Linked DNA regions of Homo sapiens: region 2 is linked to region 1. The links are contacts of gene promoters, found by promoter capture Hi-C in blood cells and fetal thymus (Javierre and others, 2016). All regions are on one chromosome and are shown on one strand. The core of a region is centred on a gene start or on the middle of the fragment in contact, and the rest is flanking DNA. Distances in the headings are between cores, read along the strand shown.

The links. The method cuts DNA at HindIII sites, captures the fragments that hold promoters and counts their contacts. A CHiCAGO score of 5 or more calls a contact.
Region 2: a contact is called between a fragment that was not itself captured here and the fragment with the promoter of HOXD-AS2 in region 1, in 1 of 17 cell types (naive CD8 T cells). The highest score is 7.8, in naive CD8 T cells.

What each region holds. Positions count from the first base shown.
Region 1 is chr2:176,134,641-176,138,477 of GRCh38, reverse strand. HOXD-AS2 (HOXD cluster antisense RNA 2) reads left to right here and starts at 1,380. Exons shown (of 3, transcript NR_038435.1): 1 at 1,380-1,857; 2 at 3,056-3,159; 3 at 3,528-3,637. LOC401021 (a long non-coding RNA gene) reads right to left here and starts at 1,866. Exons shown (of 2, transcript NR_148241.1): 1 at 1,479-1,866. The HindIII fragment of the contact is 4,739 bases long and covers 1-3,576 here.
Region 2 is chr2:176,829,980-176,833,930 of GRCh38, reverse strand. LOC105373757 (a long non-coding RNA gene) reads left to right here. Exons shown (of 4, transcript NR_187998.1): 3 at 2,433-2,535; 4 at 2,792-3,089. Among named protein-coding and RNA genes, the nearest start is that of LINC01117, 190 kb to the right of the region's middle. The HindIII fragment of the contact is 1,485 bases long and covers 1,933-3,417 here.

The DNA.
Region 1 (3,837 bases), core at 131-2,630:
TGCTTTTCAATGGGGAATGTTTTTTACCCCGATCAAAGAATGACCTCAAAGGTCATTGTACTGTAGTAGAGAAATAATTACAAAATACAAACACTCCAAATAAAATAACAATCACTCAAGTTTCTTATTTGTAAGTGATCAGAGTTAGTGATCCAGGATAATTTGCAGGCATCAGCTGGCCACAAATCGTGGACCTCCATTTTGAAATGAGCATGATTCCATCATTAATTACGAAAAACACCTTTCCACAAAGATGACATGTTTTGTTCAGAAACTCTTTTATGGCCCACGTTGTTACATTGGAATTTTAAGGGAATAATAAGTTAGGATTTACCACTGGGTGCTTTGGGAACCATACCCTTGCCTTGCGCAGGCAGTCTCATGCGCAATGCGGCAGACTGTCCAAAGGTTTCATTTCACAATGTTCATGAGGGAATAGGCAATAGGATTTGCGAACTGCATCCGCAAGTGCCATTCAAAATCAGTGGGAGAAAATAGCTTTTTTTCTTCTGCAAAGGATTTTCTTTTATGCATATTGTTTCAGTTCAGCAGTTTTGAAGTTGAGGGAAGAATGTTGCAATGTAATATTTATTAGCAGGTGGGAAAAAAAACACAACCCATCAATACATTTAGAGAGCAAAAAGATCTACTCTTTTCCTACTCTGGCAAATAAGAAACACACGATGTTTCAACACAGAGATGTCTTGTATTTCTCAAAGATCTATTGGGTTTTTACCAAGACCTGCACCATATATTCTGATACCATTACCTCCCAAAACATGGATTCATTTTGTGATATAAAAGAATCCAAATTCACCTGACGGATTATCATATGCGGGAAGAGCCTATCTTGAGTTGCTTAAAAATTTCTCTAAGAACTAGAGAAACATTTAAAAATATTTAAAATTCCATCTCATACAACACAAGGCCCAATAAACCATCAACCCTAGAAATTAACCAGCATCAGTCACTAAAGCCTAGATTCAAACACCAAGCACATCCTAGAAACAGAGAATTCACCCCACCCCCACCCAAGCCCCAACCCTCAAAAAACACCTGTTAGCCTCCCAGGAACCTCTGGCCACGGCCACAGGTAAACCACAAAAACCACAGCTCTATATAAAATGCCTTTAGTGACCCCCAGCAAAGTGGAGATGTTCAGTAGTAACCCGTCTATACACTTTCCTAGGGTAGGATTGAGGGGCTCTCCATCTAGGCAGTGGGATCCTGTCTGTGGCTACCCGTATCTCAGAATTTTTGAAATAATACTGCCCCCTTAGACTTCTGAACCCAGCCGGACTCCACCCCAGGCCCCAGGGGACGCCCTAGGAACGAAGTGATTGGGGGAAGGGGCTTAGACAGCGACCCCCCACTTCCCCGGGAAATGTAGGGGAGCAGCCGGACTGAGCTGCCCAAGGGGGTCGGCGCCCCAGGCTTCTTGGTGGCATGCTGGGGAGCGGGGAGGGGGCGATTCTTACCCGAAGGCTGCCGAGCTACAGGCGGCGGTCGGTCCGGGCGTCTGCTGTAATCCACTAGGCGCTGCCCGGCTGCGCTCACTCTCGGACGCAGAGACCCGCTCATGTTGGTGAAGAAGCCGCGCCAGAACCGCGCGGCTGCAGTCACCTCGAGCAGGCCGGCTGCTCCTGGCAGGCGGTGTCGGCGCCGGCGGGGGACTCGGCGCCCAGGGCCCCTTCCAGGCCCTCCCTCGCCGGGCTCCCCACCAGCTCCGGAGGTGGCGGCGATGCGGACCGAGTGAGCGGCGGTGGGGCCAGGCCGGGCGCCGGGCGGGAGCCGAGGCCGCGGCGGACTCCGCAATCCCGCAGCCGGTGACTGGAGCCCACCTCTGCAGAGACAAAGGTTAGAAAAAGAGGGGGTGAGGCTCTGGGAAAGCAGAATGCGGGGGGAAATTCGCCGGGGAAATCAGGAAAAAGGCCGTGAAGGCGAGCGGCGCCTGCACATGACCAGCCGCAGCCAATGACGACCGCAAATAGGTCATAAAAAGGTCTATTACCAAGTTGTAAATTTTCTTCAAACAAAAAGGAATTTACTGCAATTCCTTGCGGATTTTGCACATACAGCTCGCAAGCGCCATGTTTTTTCCTCTTCTGCTTTCTCTCTCCCCCGCCTCCTCTCTTCCTTCTCCTCCTCCTCTCTCTCTCCATTCTCTCTCTCCTTCCTCCCTTCTCTTTCTCTGTCCCTCTTCACCTTTCCCTTTTTCTTCCCTTCGTGGTTCTTCCCTCCCTCCCCGCCTCCTCTGTTTCTTTTTCTAGGATTTATTTGTGTGTGTGCGTGTGTGTGTGTGTGTGTGTGTGTGTGTGTGTGTGTGTTCTTTTCTTTGGTTTGGCTCAAAACCTCTGCGCAGTTGGCCATCGTGAAGGAGGGAAATGAACTCAATGTACTGCTCACGCTCTGGGGAAGCGATCCCCACAGCTACCTCCTCCCATCTCTCACCCTGTGCTAGTCACTTGGCTTCTCCTCCTCTCCCCTCAGGAAAAGGCCTGTCCCCAGAGGCAGCCAACCACTTTCGGTTTCCCCTCCTCCCTCTCATCTTGCAAGCCAGCCCCAGTTACCTTGGGAAGAAAACGAGGGATCTGCAGGCCAAGAAAATGTGCCCCCAACACACCACTCCAACATAAATTGGGGTCCCTCCCATTCCCGGGAGGTTCTGCAGTAGGATAATCACCAACCAGCTTAAAGGCTTCAAATGGTTTTAGGTACTTGTCAACCTCTCCGAAATACCCGTTTGAAACTCTACCACCTGGTCTTTCTCCACAGAAACATCTTTCTGGACAGACAGGGTTATGGTTTCTGGATCCCTTCTGAAACTCCTTGCTCTACGTCCTCCTCTAAGAGCAATTCTCATTTTTATGGAGTTTAATTCTAGTTCTCCCCTCTCCCCTTGCCCCCAAATATTTCCCAATTGAAAAATTTGTTCAACGCAATACTGAAAAGACATTTGTTCAGGAAAAGAGTGACTTCCTCAGATCAGCCTAGAAAAAAGAATAATTCCTTTTCCTCAAAGGCCGGTGTCACATTCCCTTTATATTTTTCACAGGAACTGCTCTGGTGAACTCCCCCTGAAAGTAAATGTCCTTGGCTGGCCTCCAGCATTCCCCTCATGGGCATAGCCATGCAGCCTTCAGAACCTTCCTGAAAGAGGTAACACCACCCCCCATCCTTTTAAAGACAGTGTCTTTACACTTCCAGTACTATGTTACAAATGTTTGCATCAGATACCTGTGTATAAGTTCTCTGCTATTAACATCTGCACACCCAGTAAGTGCCTAAGTGGATGTGGACTGAAGCAGGAAGCAGCACAGCACCCTCTGGAGCAGGCCATTTGTTATCCCTTGAAAAAGTTCTGATGACCTTGGATGTTTTTGATTAAAGGACTTTTGCTGCCATCTGTCAGCAAAAGTCATATTCTTTCTAGAAAAAAGCCAATGGGCCCTAACTTTGCTGGAGGGAACCGCAGCAGCAGCCAGGGCCCATTAAAATGTTCTCTCTCCTCCCATGTCCATCCCTAGATGCCCAAGGATTCAGCAAACACGGGGGAAGCAGAGGACACAAGAAGCTTGGATGTGAAATAGCACTTCCTTCTGTGTTACAGAATAAAACAATATTTTAAATTACACAAGCAGATGGGGCAAGTTTTTGGGCCCTCAGAAGCCCAGAAGACTTCACACTAGTATACTGGTATATACATGTGGAATTGAGCAAATAACTTGTTTAATTCCAAAATTTTCTGAGAAATAATCTCAATAGTCAATTTGCCTCATTATCCTCTCCCCATCTTACCCAAATAAAAGCAGAGCTTTATGACCCTCCCTTTCAACT
Region 2 (3,951 bases), core at 1,426-3,925, 690 kb before region 1:
AATCTGAAACATATTATTTCTTAAAAAAAAAAACTGGAGGAAAATATGACCAGATGTTAACAGTTGTTAACTCTGGGAAGTATGAATGTGAGAGTTTAACTTTTCTGTATCTTTTAAATTTTTCAAGAAAAGGAGGAGGGAGTGGGAGAAAATTTTTTTCAGAGGAAAAGAATAAGATAGATTTCTCTTTGAACCATGGAGGACAAAAGCAGTATGCACCCCCCTTATGACAGGAAGAAATCCTGAGGTCAGGCTTTGCTTCCTCTGGAGGAAACTTTTGCTGATGACAGCCTGTTTCCCTCCTGTCTCCTTTCCCCGGCCTTCCTCATGGAAAGCAAAAGCACTCTTAGGAAGGCAGCATTTTCTTTTTTTCTTTTCTGGATTTTACAACTTTATTTTTTTAATTTTTATTTTTTAATTTTTATTTTAGGTTTGGGGGTACATGTGCAGGTTTGTTTTATAGGGAAACTAGTGTCATAGGCGTTTGTTGTACAGATTATTTCATCACCCAGATATTAAGCCCAGTACCCAATAGTTATTTTTTCTGCTCCTCTCCCTCCTCCCACTCTCCACCCTCAAGTAGACCCCAGTGTCTACTGTTTCCTTCTTTGTGTTCATAAGTTCTCATCATTTAGCTCTCACTTATAAGTGAGAAGATGTAGTATTTGGTTTTCTGTTCCTGCATTAGTTTGCTAAGGATGATAGCCTCTAGGTCCATCCATGTTCCCACAAAAGACATGATCTTGTTCTTTTTTATGGCTGCGCAGTATTCCATGGTATGTATGTACCACATTTTCTTTATCCAATCTGTCATTTATGGGCATTTAAGTTGATTCCCTGTCTTTGCCGGGTAGCCATTTTCACTACTAGGGAGATTAGGACCCTATCTGCCCATATGGGATTGCATTTGAGAACAAAGCATTTCCATGACCATGATTTGTATGTTTTAAATTCTATAGTCTCTGTATATATGTTATTACTCCTGGAAAACTTTCTGTGTGATGGGGAATAAATAATAAAAGTGCATTAAGATGTAGAACTTAAATTCCAAAGATTAACTGCATTTTAAAAGAGAAGTTCTGAGGGAGTGAGCAGTCCTCCCACGTTTTTCCAAAAGAAAACACTGATCAAGATTTTTCAGAAAAAATATGTTCAGAAATTCTTCAGAAAAGAAAATTTTTGGACAATGTGGTAACTTGATCAGTAAACATGTTTGGTAGTAAAAGGCCTACTTCCATGGGCCCCTTCTACTGTATCTGTGAAAAAGGCTGCTTTTGAGCAGTAAGTAAATGTCACCCCCAACTCGGGCAATGCGTGGTAGGTGGGCCATGGGAACAACTTGGGTGTTAGGGTAGAATGGCCACTGTCTGGACCTGTCACTAACACTGCACTTGAACACAGGTGTGGACAACAAGAGCACAGAGCAGGCCAGTGGGCACCAAATAGTACCTCTTTTACATTTTGCTACAATATCAGCAGCTTATGGCACTGGCTTAAGGCTGCTGCCAAACTCCGCTGTCATTCCCTCGCTGACAGTGATAGAATGGTACATCCGTTCAGTATTCAGAAATGAGACAGGCTTGTTTTGACACCACTGTTTCTGCAAAAGGGAAAGGAACCAGATTGGAGAGTGTAGTCATCAATTGGCAGAATCAGTTAAGAATAACAACAGCACAGTGTGCGTCATTTGGGAGAGGTAAGTGTGGCATGAGGTGCTGGAATTCATTGGAAAATGCTAGCCCAGCTCTTCCTCCCTTAGTTTGGACAACGTCTGGTCTCATTTCCATGGCTTCTGCACACCCAGTTGAAGGGAAGCTCGTCCCTGCCTCCCAATCACTTAACCTCTTATGATGCCTGATAGTAAAATATAGTATGTTAGCAACTATAGGGATTCCTACATGGAGAGATAAGTCTTTGATTCTTATTTAAGCTTTGATTTATTGTCTTCAGTTGTTTTGGGTAGAGGGATGGCTGATTTTTAACAAGAAGATAAACTTAAAGATGGAAATTCTTGTAAGCCATAAATATCACTAACTTGCCTGTTCCAGGGAAGTTCAAATAAAGACACTGGGACTTAGCAGCAGCTGAAATGTTTTCCTTTTTTCCCCATTGGCCCAAAAAAAGATATGCCTTGCCATTGGTGGTTTGGCGCCAGGGCCTGATCTGTGCCTGGATACACAGGCCATTCAGAGTTCCTATTGCATAGAAAGGAGACAGAGGATGACAAATTGGTCTACACCAGTTGACCTCCAAAGTGAAGGGATAATTTTACCCAGCAACCTCTGGAGTTTTCTTTATCTGTTTTATTTAGTGAAAACACTGTTCTTCTCCAGTACTCCCTATTTCTCCTAGCAAGCTCCAAGGATTAATTCTGGGTCACTAGCTAAATTCACCACCTCTGCTCTGCTCCCAAATTGCTTCTTTTTCCTTAGCCTTATGCAAATCCTGGAAGATATCAATTCTGAGGGCTGGGGTGTATCTTGATCACCTTTGGAATCTACCACTGCATGGAGCACAGCACTTACCACCTAGTAGGTAAGCAACAAATGCTTGCTTGTCAATTGATTTATTCAGTAGACTCAGTGCTATGTGTACATTAAACACCTGGGGAGCTTTAAACAATAAACGAGCAAACCAACAAATGCTGCATCAGCCTAGACCAACACAATCCTGATCTCTGGATGTGGGATCCCCGCACTGGTAAGTTTGTAAAGCACCACAGGTGATACTAGTGCATGGGGAAGATTGAGAACTACTGGATTCATTAACCTGTTGCTTTACTTGGCTACAGTTCTGTTTGTTTCCAAGTTTGGAAGAAACATAATTGAATCATTTTGAGGAATTCCAATCCCTGACAAGATGCCAGTGCTATTTTACAGCAAGAGTAGACGAGGAAGGCTATACTACGTGGTCCTGGGCAAGTTATTTAAATTCTCTGTGCCTCAGTTTTCTGAACCGTAAGATGGGAAGAATAATAGTAACTACCTCTGGAGGCTGTTGTAAAAGTTAAATGATCTGATCTATGTAAAGCACTTAGAACAGTACCTGGTATATAAGTGTGTGATAAATAAAATCCAATATGAAGAAGAGGATGATCTATTTGTTGTCATTATTGTTGTTCTCTGCTTCAGTTAATGACTCCAGCTTCCTCCCAGACTAAGCTCCCAGGAGACTTTTGACCCCAGCCTCTCCTTTGTCCCTTCCATTTTATTGCTGGTCAAGTCCTGCTCCTCTGACCCTGCACTATCTGGAATCTGCCCCTTCCTTTTCATGCCCCTGTCCCTAATTGTAATCCTCACTCTCATTATCTCTCTTCTGGGTTATGGCTGCCGCACTGGTCTCCTTGCCAACCGTCTGTTTTGCCTGTCAACCACCCCTAGATGGCTCCCAAATTGCCCTAAAGTCAAGCTCTAAGCTTGCAGCTGCCAAGCTCAAAGCTCAACTTATATCCTTATTGCTGTGAAAATTCAAACCCAAATTGTGTGATTTGGACAGTTTAGTTACTTTCTCTAAGCCTTGGTTTCTTCATCTTCTTTTTTTGTTTCCTTTTTTGAGATGGAGTCTCGCTCTGACACCCAGGCTGGAGTGCAGTGGCGCTATCTCGGCTCACTGCAACCTCCACCTCCCAGGTTCAAGCGATTCTCTTTCCTCAGTCTCCTGAGTAGCTGAGATCACAGGTGCACATCAACATGCCCGGCTAAATTGTGTATTTTTCGTAGAGACAGGGTTTCTCCATGTTGGCCAAGCTGGTTTCAAACTCCTGGCCTCAAGTGATCCGCCTGCCTCAGCCTCCCAAAGTGCTGGGATTACAGGCATGAGCCACAGCGCCCTGCCAGTTTCTTGATCTTTAAATGGGGATCATCTAATAACACTTTCTCTTTAATAGGGTTATGGGAATAGAATAAAGGAATTCTTGTAAATAAAGCATCTAGAAATCTTCATGGCACACCA